Regions from separate parts of the Homo sapiens genome. Here all the other regions are linked to region 1. The links are contacts of gene promoters, found by promoter capture Hi-C in blood cells and fetal thymus (Javierre and others, 2016). All regions are on one chromosome and are shown on one strand. Each heading gives the region's core, a stretch centred on a gene start or on the middle of the fragment in contact. The rest is flanking DNA. Distances are from core to core; before and after follow the strand shown.

Region 1 (4,200 bases), core at 838-3,337:
CCCTGATGGTGGCAGCTGCCCTAATTCTAAGGCTCAATGTGTTGGCCCGGCTGGTTGTATGACTGGAAGACTCTGAGGGCCATGGCAAAGTTCTCAGGTTCTGAGCCAAGGCAGCTCACTTCCTACACATTCTTGCCCCAGCCCTGATGTGGGTGGAGCTGGGCCTACTCTTACTGATAGGGGTCTTGGGTGGACGGCAGCAGATGACAGCTGGTCTTCTCCTCATGTTGGGCCCTGCTGGGGTCTGATTTCTGGAGCATGGAGGTCCCCACCTCCTTCAGAGCCTCACGGGCTGATGGAGGGTGATGGTGACCCACACAGGGCTAAGGTGGGTGGTGACATGGCCCCCAGCCCTGCCCATGTCTTTGGTGCTTCCGTGAGGGAAGAGCTAAGGCCTTGCTCAGACTGTAGGCAGATGTCAGGCAGATGGCCTCCAAATGCAATTTCCCTAGAACTGGGAAAAGATGAGTTCCTGGGGGTGAGGGAGAAGAGTCCTTGGCTGAGAACTGACTTAACCCCCACCCCCAGCTTTCTGTCTGCACCTAGGCCAGCTCAGTTTCTGTACCCAGGCCTCAGGGCAGCCTGTGAGGGGCCCAAGTACGCCTCACAGGGCTCAAGCCAGCATAGCTCCCCTTACAGGGACACTGGAGCTGACACCTGACTCTAGCCCAGCCTTGTGGTCATGCCCTCTGGGCAACAGCAGGGACAGGCTACATCTGGGTCCAGGGCTCTGTCCCTATGTCCCCATCAAACCCTCCAGTTCAGGGCTGTGTCCCCCCATAACAACTTCCCCATGGCTCTGTCCTCTCTATCCCACACTGTCCCCAAGCCCCCACCCCTCAGGACTTCCCTGGGCACCTCTCACTGCCTCTTGCATTTCTGTTTTCCTGCTCCCTCTGGTCCGCCCCTGCCTGCACAGCCTCCATCCCCTGCTCCTCCCTGGCCCTGGCTCCTGGGCCTTCTCCCTCTGGCCTCACAATTCAGAACTCTAGGTCTGGTCTGCCAGCTCCCTCGTTGGCTCCCCTTTCAGGCTCCGCAGGAGTGGGGTACAAGGGGGTTAGGGAGGCTACAGATGGCCCCACCCTTCCTGGCCCCAGCCAGGCTCTCCACCAGGGCTCTCCCCCAGCTTCTGTGCTATCTCAGCAGCTCCTCCCACCTCTCCCACTGTGTGCCTGCTCCCAATTTACCCTCCTTCCAAACCAGAACTCATCATGACTTGTCCCTGAGCAGAAACCTTCTAAAGCTCCCGGTTATCACCAGGACCAAGTCAGACTTCCCAGTCCCTAGGTCCTGCCCTGCCTGCCCCTCTGGACCTAGTGCTCCACATAGCTTCTCTGTAAAGGGTCTCCTCATCCTGCTGCCCCCACCCTCCAACTTGGAATGCCCTCGTCTCCATCTTAAGGCTATGTCTCCCCCTCCATTAGACAGGGGTCCCTGGAACATCTCTGGAGATAGAGGCTGTTGCCTCCAGAAGACCCTAAATTCAGGGTCTGTTCCATCAGACTAGAGGTCCAGGAAACCCAGGGCTGTGCACCTCCCTGCCAGTGAGACCAAAGGCTGGAGGATGGGGGCCCAGTATCCCCCATCAGTCTGGGCAGGGCTGTGTCCCCAAGTCAGGCTGGGAATCCCTAAGGTCAAGGTGAGTCTCCCCCGTCAGACTAATGTTCCAGAAATCGGGTACTGTGCCCTTCCATCAGACCAGGGACCCTAAGAGTGGGGCTGAGTCTCTCTCACAGCCTGGCAGGGCTTGGGGCAGGGCTGCATCGCCCGGGAGACTGGATCTCTCAGGGCAAGAGTAAGGGATCAAACAAGCTCCGGATCAAAAAGGCGTCCCCTCTCCCCCAGCCCCCTGCCTGGAGGGTGACAGCCTCCCCAGTCCCTCCGTGCCGCGGCCTCACCTCCACCAGCTGCCCGGCAACCCCCGCGAGGCACACCCCGAGTGCGGCGCCGCCCAGCACGCAGAGGGGACCCGCGCCCGGCCACCCCGCCATCTTCGTGCCACCGCGCCGCTTGCGGAGCCCAGGGACGAACGGGCCGGCCGCCGGTCACTGCCCCTGCCAGCCGGCGCTCGGTGGCCACGGGCTTTGGCCACGGGTAGTCAGCGAGCATCATTTATTCATCCTCGGTGTCAGGTTCCCGCGCCGCCCGCCCCCGCCATCGCTGCGGTGGAGGGCCCGCCCCCTCCTTCCCGGGAGATCGGGCCGCAGGCTCCCCCTCCCTGCCCCCACCTTCCGCATCCCCAGGGACACTGAGGTGGGGGTGGGCGGGAGGGAGGACAGGCTGGGGCCAGGTCCCTAATCAACAGGTCCCCCTCCCTTCTGCAAATGGGCCTCAGTTTCTCCATCTGGGACAAGGGGGTGGGACTGGAATCTGCTGATCTAGGAGGCCCTTCCCATTCTGTCATGCTGGATTTGAAAAATATACTGGATTTGAGTTTGGGGGGGGGGCAGAGCGGGCAGGTTGCCATGGTGACAGGCGCTCAGGGATGTCCTGGGCTTTCTGGCTTGGCTTCCTGCCCAGAGGCGGCTCTGGTCACCCTGGACACCAGAGCTGGAGAGCAGGGGATGGTATGGTCAGAGCTGCCAGCCGGCAGTGTTATGGAGGGTTCCAGAAGAAGCCAGCATCTTCAGCCCCACAGGACAGAAGTGGGCTGTCCCTGGAAGGGCTGGAGGACCATTTTCTGACCCTGGCTGCCCTCAATCTCTGCCCCAGCCTGAACACTGACTCTGACTTCAGTCTAAGCCAGGACCCTGACCTCATGCTGAAGTTGACCCACACTGCACTCTGGCCCTGACCCCATGTTGAGCCTTGACAACTGAGGGACAGAGGGAGGTTCTGAGGAGATGTAGAGACCTGGGTGGGGGCTGAAGACTTAGGAAGAGGAGTGGGGAGGCCTGGAGTTGGTAGACTCCCCTTCCCTCCTTTTCTTCCTTCCTTCTATTCTTATTTATCTCCTGCTGCTGAGTGTTAGGAGAAGCAGCCCAGGTGTTGGGCCCCTGGAACCCTTATCACCAGGGGCACTGGTGAAGGCCTGCGCAGGCTGGGGATGGCCCAGCAAGGCCTGCCCTGAGAACCAGGGAGACCCTGTGGCTCCAGAGCCCTGTGAGGTTCTGGCCTGGACATGCCATGAATGGGCAAGGACCACAGCAGGCTGCAGCAGGGAGCGGAGGGCCACCTGCGGTCACCTGCCAGTGTCAGGGCCCGGAGATGACAGCCAGGCAGGAAAACGAGAGCTGTTGGAGAAGGACTGCAGCCCAGGAGACCCATCGAGGAAACGCTCAACAGTGGGAGGTAAAGTCTGGGGACTGAGTGGGCTGGGCCACCCAGTCCTCCCCAGGCATGCCCTGGCCAGGCAAACAGGAACTCTGCTAAAATCCAAATCACTTGTTGCAGCACTCCAATCCCCACTTCCTCATGCTGCTGGTCACAGGCCAGGCTAGGGAAAGCCACACTGACCAGTCAGGGAGGTCACCCTCGGGACATGGGGTCAGGGAGGCTGGACAGGGTGAGGACTAAGTGAGCCTGTCAGTAATGCACTGAGCAAAGCATTACTCCTCTGTTTCTGTTTCTTATCCATGGCATGGGGAGGGTGAGACTCCCATGATTGATGTGAGGATGATATGAATTAATGAATATGGGAGTGCTGGCTCTCCTTAGCAGGACAGGCAGTGCTCTGCTGCTTACAGGCTCCCAATCACAGCTCAGCCCAGAGGAGAGCTGTTTCTGTTTTCTGTAAAGTTCATCCATCCATCAAGAAGTAGGGCAAGCCTAGTGAAGAAATCTGAAAGAAAATACAATCATATGTGTCCCCCGGTGTTCCCTGAGATGGCCACTGCTCTGCGTGGGTTCCACTTCTCTGCAGACTCCTGAACACAGCTGAGATCTTACAGTACACTATTTCTAGTATACTTTTGTACCCAGAACTTTTTTTAACCAACTCAAGTACTCTAGATCCTCCTTGACCCCACCACAGCCAAATACTATCACACGGGCTTCAAAATCAAACTGACTGAACTTAAACAGCAGGGTGTCCCAAAAGTCTCAGTGCAGTTGTAAGCTTTAATAACCTCAGAAGTATAAAGCTACAAATGTATGAGAAACACCATTTAGCCAGGCATGGTGGCTCACACCTGTAATCCCAGCACCTTGGGAGGCCGAGGTGGGCAGATCACCCGAGGTCAGGAGTCGAGACCAGCCTGA
Region 2 (4,200 bases), core at 662-3,161, 660 kb before region 1:
ACTCCTAGAACCATGCAGATCCTCAAAAGGAAATTGAGGCCCTATTCGAAGGGAAAAAAGGTAGGGGAAATAGATGCCGAAGAGGCCAAGCATCAGATGGCCCCTACAGTTTCCTATGATTTTCCTGCCAGTGGATTGTCCAGACATAGTTCAATGTTTCCCAAGCCGCCTCCGTCATGCTAGGCTGTAGCTGTTGTCAGGAGGCCTTTCCCATTGACATGTCTCCCTCTGAGAGTGCAATCTCTGATTCTGGCTCTGAGGCCACAAAAACATTCTGGTTGTCTTGTTTGTCGCAGCCTTTCAAGAGCCGGGAACTGAAACCTTGTTGCTCCTCTCCTCCAGGTAAATCTCCCCAGTTTCCCACTATTCTACATAAGACTTGGCTGTGTAATTTGAACACGTTTCCTAACTTTTGTTGTTATTGTTGTTGTTGAGACAGAGTCTCACTCTGTCATCTAGGCTGGAGTGCAGTGGCGTGATCTCGGCTCACTACAACTTCCGCCTCCCAGGTTCAAGCGATTCTCATGCCTCAGCCTGCTGAGTAGCTGGGATTACAGGCGCACACCACTATGCCCAGCTAATTTTTGTATTTGTAGTAGAGATGGGGTTTCACCATGTTGGCCAGGCTGGTCTCGACCTCCTGACCTCAGGTGATCTGCCCGCCTTGGCCTCCCAAAGTGCTAGGATTAGAGGCATGAGCCACCACACCCGGTCAACATTTTTTTTTCTTCTTTTTTTTTTTTAAGAGACAAGATCTTCCTGTCACCCAGGATGGAGTGCAGTGGTGCAATCATAGTTCACTGGAGCCTTGAACTCCTGGGCTCAAATAATCCTCCCACCTCAGCATCCTGAGTAACTGGGACTACAGGTGCATGCCACCACCCTTGGCTAATTTTTTATTTTTTTGTAGAGATGGGGTCTTGCTATGTTGCCCAGGCTGGTCTTGAACTCCTGGGCTCAAGCAATCCGCCTCAGCCTCCCAAAGTGTTGAGATTGCAGGAATGAGCCACTACACCCAGCCAGTTTCCTAACTTGTACAGGCCTCATTTTCCTCATCTGTCAATGCTGGGGGCAATCTAAGCTTCTCAAACTGATGGGGAGTCACATATTGGGAGTGCAGAGTCCCTGAACAAACACGCTACAGCATCTAAAGGCTTGATTTTACTGGAGTTTCTGCCCCACCGTGGAAATATTAATACAAAATGTTTCAATGTTAAAACAGTTATGGACAACTCAACAATAAAAAAACATAATAATTTGGCTGAGCACAATGGCTTACACCTGTAATCCCAGAACTTTGGGAGGCCGAGGCAGATGGATCACTTGAGGTCAGGGGTTTGAAACTAGCCTGACCAACACGGTGAAACCCAGTCTCTACTAAAAATACAAAAATTAGCTGGTGTGGTAGCAGGCGCTTGCAATCCCAACTACTCGGGAGGCTGAGGCAGGAGAATTGTGTGAACCCAGGAGGTGGAGGTTGAAGTGAGCTGGAATTGCACCACTGCACTCCAGCTTGGGCGAAGCGAGACTGTCTCAAAAAAATAATAGTAATAATAATAATTTTAAAATGTGCAAAGGACTTGAATAGGCATTTCTCAAAGATGATATGTAAATGGACAATAAGCACAAGAAAAGATATTCAACATCATTAGCCATTAGGAAAATGCAAATCAAAACCACAGTGAAATATCATTTCATACACACTAGGATGGCTGTAATAAAAAAAGAGGGGCAGACTGGGCATGGTGGCTCACAGCTGTAATCCTAGCAGTTTGGGGGCCAAGACAGGAGGATCATGTGAGCCCAGGAGTTCAAGACCAGCTTGGGCAACATAGTGAGATCCCATCTCTACAAAAAATTTTAATTAAAAAAAAATTAGCCAGGTGTCATGACATGCACCTGTAGTCCCATCTACTCGAGAGGCTGAGGTGGAGGATCGCTTGAACCTGGGAGTTCAAGGCTGCAATGAGTCATGATCAAGCCACTGCGCTCCAGCCTGGGCAACAGAGTCTGTCTCAGAAAAAAAAAGCGAGAGAGACAAATGTTGGCAAGGGTATGGGAATATTGGAACCCTCCCAGATTGCTGGCGGAAATGTAAAATGACACAGCCTCTGTGGGAAACAGTTTGGCAGTTCCTCAAAAAGTTAAACATAGAGTTACCATATAACCCAGAAATTCTACTCCTAGCTATACATTTCTGGATAATTGAAAACATATCTCCATACAAAAACTCATATATCAATATTCATAGCAGCATTATTCATAATAGCCAAAACATGGAAACAACCTAAATGGCTATAAACTGATGAATGAATAAATAAAATGTGGACTATTCATACCACAGAATACAGTTCAGCCATAAAAAGGAATGAAGTACTAACACACGGCAGAACATAGATGAGCCTTGAAAATACCGAAGTAAGTGTAAGAAGCCAGACACCAAATGCCACAGATTAACACGATTCCATTTACATGAAATGTCCTAAATAGGCAAATCCATAAAGGCAGAGTGGATTGGTTGCCAGGGATTGAGAGGAGGGGAACATGGGAGAATGACTGCTAATGGTACAAAGTTTCTTTTTGGGGCTGATGACAATGTTCTGAATTGTACACTTTAAAAGGGCGTATTTTATGGTACATAAACTTTATCTCAATAAAAAGAGTTCTATTGAACATTTTAAAAAGCTGGCTAGGGGCCTCATTTTCCTCATCTGTCAATGGTGGGGACAATCTAAGCTTCTCAAACTGACGGCGGGTCATGTATTGGGAGTACACAGTCCCTGAACAAACACATCCGCAGCATCTAAAGGGTTGATTTTACTGGAGTTTCTGCCCCACCATGGAAATATTAATACAAAATATTTCTTTTTTTTTTTTTTGAGACAGAGTCTCGGATCTGTCACCCAGGCTAGAGTGCAGTGGGGCAATCTTGGCTCGCTGCAACCTCCGCCTCCCGGGTTCTCGCCATTCTCCTGCCTCAGACTCCCGAGTAGCTGGGACTGCAGGCGCCCTGCCACCACGCCCGGCTAATTTTTTGTATTTTTAGTAGAGACGGGGTTTCTCCATGTTAGCCAGGATGGTCTCAATCTCCTGACCTCGTGATCCGCCCTCCTTGGCCTCCCAAAGTGGTGGGATTACAGGCGTGAGCCACCGCGCCCGGCCCAATACAAAATATTTCAATGTTAAAACATTTATAGACAACTCAACATAAAAAATATAATAATTTGGCCAGGTGCAGTGGTTCACTCCTGTAATCCCAGCACTTTGGGAGGCCGAGGCGGGCAGATCACCTGAGGTCAGGGGTTTGAGACCAGCCTGGCGAACATGGTGAAATCCTGTCTCTACTAAAAATACAAAAATTAGCCCAGTGTGGTGGCAGGCACGTGTAGTCCCAGCTACTCGGGAGGCTGAGGCACAAGAATCACTTGAACCCGGGAGGTGGAGGTTGCAGTGAGCCGAGATGGCACCACTGCACTCCAGCCTGGGCGATAGAGCAAGACTCTGTCTCAAAAAAAATAAAAAATAAAAAATAAAAAGCTGGCTAGGCATGGTGGCTCATGCCTGCAATCCCAGCACTTTGGGAGGTCAAGGTGGAAGAATTGCTTGAGCCCAGGAGTTTGAGACCAGACTGGGCAACATAGTGAGACCCTTGCCTCCTCAAAAAATTAGTCAGGCTTGGTGGCTCATGCCTGTAGCTACAGATGCAGAGCACCCAGCTACAGAGCGACAGAGCAGGACCTACCTCAAAAAAATAAAAAAAAAAGTTGCAGATGTATTGTGGAATAAAATGCAGACTCCGCATGGGCATTTTTAAAATACTTTTGTTATTTTTGTAAAACTGAAAGTTTATTATTTTGAAAGTTTTCAAATAATAAAAGCTAAAAGAAGAAACATAGAGATAAGCATACTTTAGTGAACGTTCTTTCAGATGCCCTAATAATGATATTGTTAGGATGTTGATTGGTGCTTAATTTTATATACAAGGAGTTATGCCTTAATCGGGGGTGGGTTGACATGCTATCTTCCTTGGTCTGCGCAATCCCCCTCTCTGCTTTTATTTTTATTTTTCCCACCCCATTTCCTATCCCATCCCATTTTCCATCCCCTCAACCTTTAATCTTTTTTTAAATACATACAGTGGCATGATCATAGCTTATGCCATGAGCTATGAGTGTCTGTTCTCACACTTGAGCCTCTAAC
Region 3 (4,200 bases), core at 647-3,146, 640 kb before region 1:
AAGACTACTTTTGCTGTACATCTGGCTTTTCCCTTATATTCACAGAAATATTCCCATTTTGTCCAATATATTTTTTTCAGTGAATCACAATTAAAAAACAAACATGTACTTCTAATATCTGAGAAATAAACCAAGAAAGGACAAGAGCTATTAGGAGTGTTCTCTTTATTTCTCTTTGGTTTCTTAACACAAAAGACATGCATTCTATAAATAAAAGGAACTAAGATTTTCTGGGAAACCATAAATTGGGAGGAATTCCCACAGTCACACCTCTGTGGTCAAGAGGATGGTCTTCAGCCCCCATCTGGCTGTAATCTCTGATGAAATCCAGAAGAGAAGGCCCGTGTGTTATCCAAGAAGGTGAAACACTCAAGGACAGTGAATGCCACAGTCCTCTGCTCAGAGCTGGGCTAGGCCCCAAGGCCCACTGAGTACAATGTCTACCCTATCTCCTTGTTACATCCTTTTTACAATATCCTTGGGTGATGCTTCTTTTCATGGGGCTATTGGAAAGGCTCCAACACCAAAGAGCCAGACCAGCCATTTACGAATAGCCATTCACCATCGGACTGAGGAACCTACTGGGAGAGTGTGAATATGTTGGTGTTTCCTGACTTGTGCTCAGAGCCCAGATCAAAACACTGGCTTGATCTTACTTTGAAACATCGACCTCAGGTGCAGCAGTGTAAATTCTACACCAGGAGGTGGGATTGGACTCAGGAAGTCCACTACAAGAGCAGCAGGCCATGGTAGAAAATGATCTGCCATACCCAGTGGCAAAATCTGGGCCAGTATCCTAAGGACCCACTCAGTAGCCCACAGACCGATTCTTAATACCTTCACAATCCAGGCTTGTTGGTGCTACTTCAAATTCACAAAAGAAAGGGGCTTATAATAAGACAAGCACTGATACACTCCTAACAGGAAATGCACACCCCACCCACCTTCCGAGTCTACCCCTACAGGCAAACCAGGAAGGAGGGAGAAATGCTGGAGCCCTACCACGAGCCCAGGTTAAACGACATCCGATATCAGATTGTTGAGACGTTAAAAATAAAAATATCATTTTCAAGTGCTTGTAGCAGAGGCCTAGCTCCTAAGTTGTAGGTAACAAAGGTACTTCCCTCTGAATACATGGCGATTGCACACACTGGTAAACCTGACGGTCCTGGGGTGGGGGAGACACCCCAGGCTCCACATTGTGCCTTTCTGAACAGGCTTCCAGGCCACCCCAGGCAGGCAGCAAAGGATAGGAAACCAAGCAGGTGGAGACTGGAGCCCTAAGACTCAGTCTTGGGTTACAGGAATTGAATCTTCTTTTAGTCTCTACTGGAAGAATTTTAGAAAACCAATTTTGGCAGCAGCAGTTGAAGGACAGCCCCACTGCCCAGTGCACTGGCAAGAGAAAATGTCCTCCTCTTTGAGTCCCGCTGTGCTACATTAGGTCCTATCCAGGGAGGAGGAAGCAATATGAAATCTTTCCAAAAGGTAAAGGTCATTTGCCAAGATTAGAGGAAGAAATATAAAATCTGTTCTTTGCAGCAGCAAGAGATTCTTTCGGCCTTTAGTTCTTTATGTCATAAAAGCCAGCTGTGCTTGAATGTAAAGGTCCACCTTGCTGGTCAGTCTGCCCAGGGCTGGAGGGAGGCCAGACTCTTGGGATTGGCGAGTGGATGGAGGAGCAGTGGAATGGCAGAGCAGACAAGGTTACCAGACCAAGCCCGCCCACAGCTGGTAGAAGGAAGCCCTGGTTAGGTTCTAGAGGTGCATATGGTCAACGTGCCCCAGAAGCATCACAATGAGGGAAATCATCCAAGAACGAGATTGATGGGCAAGTGAGAATCTGGCCAGACCTGCTGTTTCCTGCTGGTCAAAAAAGGAAGCAATGTTAGTGAGAGTGGGGAATCTGAATGAGCGCCATGGTGGCAGTAGGAGGTAATCACAGGGGCGCCTGGAGCCCCCAGCCACAGCTAGGAGCCCCCACCAAGAAGAGTGGCAGTAATTCAGCAGATAGCCTAACTCTCTACGCCTATGATTTTAAAAGTCCTCTGATGGTGGGTGAGAAGACAAACCCCATGAGCACCTTACTACAGGCCCAGTCAAGAGTGCACTGATTCCACACACACTGGGGCTCAGAGGGAACCCCCAGCTCAATGCGAGGCCTCAGGACCCTGGGATCCGAATGTGGGGTGGATACCGCCCTTCTCCAGTTAGACGATTTTCCATTTAAACATAGATTTGCCGTTAGTGTCTTTTATGCTTTTTTCTTCTTGCAAAATTTGTTCACATAAAAAAATTATTTTTCTTTCCAGTTTCTTTCAAGTGTTTCTTTGTTTAAATTTCCTTCAGTTTCTTTCAAGTATCTTTTTTTCCCTTCTGTTCTCCTGGACAGATCAAAAGGCCTCACTGAAATCCCAAAATTAGACATGGGGAAAACTTCTCTTCTCCCTGCTTACCCAGCAATGAGGACAGAATCCTTGGTGCCCCACTGTGGAAGAAGGAATGTGCCTGTGTGCAGCCTTCCACTGCTGTGGCCACACCATCTCAGGCAGGGAGAACGCTTGGGTCTGTCCTTTCGTCCCCAGCTACATCCCAGTTTCCAGCAGGCTTGGACACTGCAGCCTCCCCATGGCAAATTGGCCAGACTCGGCTGGAGAGCAAGCAGGCGATGGGGAGCATCAGATGGAAGGCCTTCTGTGAACAGCTGGCCCACAGAGAGGCGGTGGGTAGGAGCTGGGCCTGGATGGAGCCTGTGTTCATGTGGACCAGAAAACAGTTCCATGTCACCAGCTGCAGGATCCAGAGGAGCTTGTGTTCCATGCTGTGCATCTTGATGACCCAAGCCTGAAGGTCACAAGGGTGGCACAGTGGGGGAGGGCTTAAGCACCTGGAAAAACTGTACCTCCGGCGAGCTCACGTTTCGCCATCTCTTCTGGTCCACTGCCTCTCCTGAGGGACTGTTCCTGGAAGGAAGCGCCTATGTCTGTACCAGATCCCTGCCCCACCACATCCCATCCTCTGCCTTAGATGGTGAGGAGAGGGATGCAGCCCACACCGACCCCTCCCTCATGGCACGCCATGGGGGCCATGAATGTCCAGCAGTCTGTCTCTGGGTCATACATCTCCACTGAGCTTAGGTTTGACTGTCCGTCGTAGCCCCCAACAGCGTAGAGGCGCCCACAGCTGGCCACCAGGGAGACCCGGCTCCTGCGCGTGTGCATGGGGACAATCAGGCACCACTGGTCTGCCACAGAGCTGTACATCTCGGCAATGCTGAGGAAGCCAGAGCCATCGTAGCCCCCGCAGACAAACATCTTGCTCCCCAGGGAGGCGGCTCCGTGCCGGCAGCGCTTGTTGAGCATGCCAGCTGCAGGGTGCCAGGTGGCTGTGTGGTGGTTGTAGTGTTCCACCTGCAGTGGGGAGAGAGGCACAGGTACAGGACAGTCAGAGGCAAAGCTCAGTCCATGGAGTGACCGTGCAGGGCACAGCAGCCCCCCATGATGTCAAACTCCTGTGGGAGGTATGGGGACAAGGAGCTCTCCCAGTATTCCCTCTGCTGCAGGCCTGCTCTTTGGTGTATGGGGACAGGGAGAGGTCACCTCACCTAACCCTTTCTGTTTGCATCTAAGGAAACAAAAAGGATGTGCCCAAGGATGCAATGCTAGGTAGTGACAGAACCTGTATGAGAGCTGGGTCTCCTGTAATCTCCAGGGCTCTCCACTGCAGCACTGACTGACTATGGAATGACTAGTAAATGGCTGTTGAGCCTTTTTTACAGAATAAATACAATTTCAAACAAATTATCCAAAAGAATACAACTGTTTGCAAATTTACACTTGGTCTATAACTGAACTTACTTTGGGCAGGAATCTCACAAGTTCTATGTAGTGTTCAACAGACAGTAGAACAGGGTGGTGGCTGCAGATGTGACTACCCTTTGCCCTTCTTTTGTGTACACTGGCTCATTCTCTGGAAGTTCAGAATTTCAGAAGGTGCAGTGGATAGCCTGAAACCTCACTAGATGATACTTTATTCAGCTGTGGCAAGGCTGAAGTTTTTTCAAATAATGATCTTCTAAAATAAATCTCAAAGACAGAAGTAGGTACCCTTATCCCAGGGGGAGCCCAGACTCACACTGCTGAAGATCTGCAAACCATCATGGCCGCCTGACACATATATCCTGCCCTCAAAGACTGTAAC

What was found. The method cuts DNA at HindIII sites, captures the fragments that hold promoters and counts their contacts. A CHiCAGO score of 5 or more calls a contact.
Region 2: a contact is called between a fragment that was not itself captured here and the fragment with the promoter of TMIE in region 1, in 1 of 17 cell types (endothelial precursors). The highest score is 8.5, in endothelial precursors.
Region 3: a contact is called between a fragment that was not itself captured here and the fragment with the promoter of TMIE in region 1, in 1 of 17 cell types (total B cells). The highest score is 5.9, in total B cells.

Annotation. Positions count from the first base shown.
Region 1 is chr3:46,699,279-46,703,478 of GRCh38, reverse strand. TMIE (transmembrane inner ear) reads right to left here and starts at 2,087. Exons shown (of 4, transcript NM_147196.3): 1 at 1,899-2,087. The coding sequence starts at 1,991. The HindIII fragment of the contact is 54,343 bases long and covers 1-4,059 here.
Region 2 is chr3:47,363,787-47,367,986 of GRCh38, reverse strand. No RefSeq gene overlaps it. Among named protein-coding and RNA genes, the nearest start is that of PTPN23, 15 kb to the left of the region's middle. The HindIII fragment of the contact is 1,655 bases long and covers 1,084-2,738 here.
Region 3 is chr3:47,342,765-47,346,964 of GRCh38, reverse strand. KLHL18 (kelch like family member 18) reads right to left here. Exons shown (of 10, transcript NM_025010.5): 9 at 4,135-4,200; 10 at 149-3,410. The coding sequence ends at 3,024. Among named protein-coding and RNA genes, the nearest start is that of PTPN23, 36 kb to the left of the region's middle. The HindIII fragment of the contact is 8,623 bases long and covers 1-4,200 here.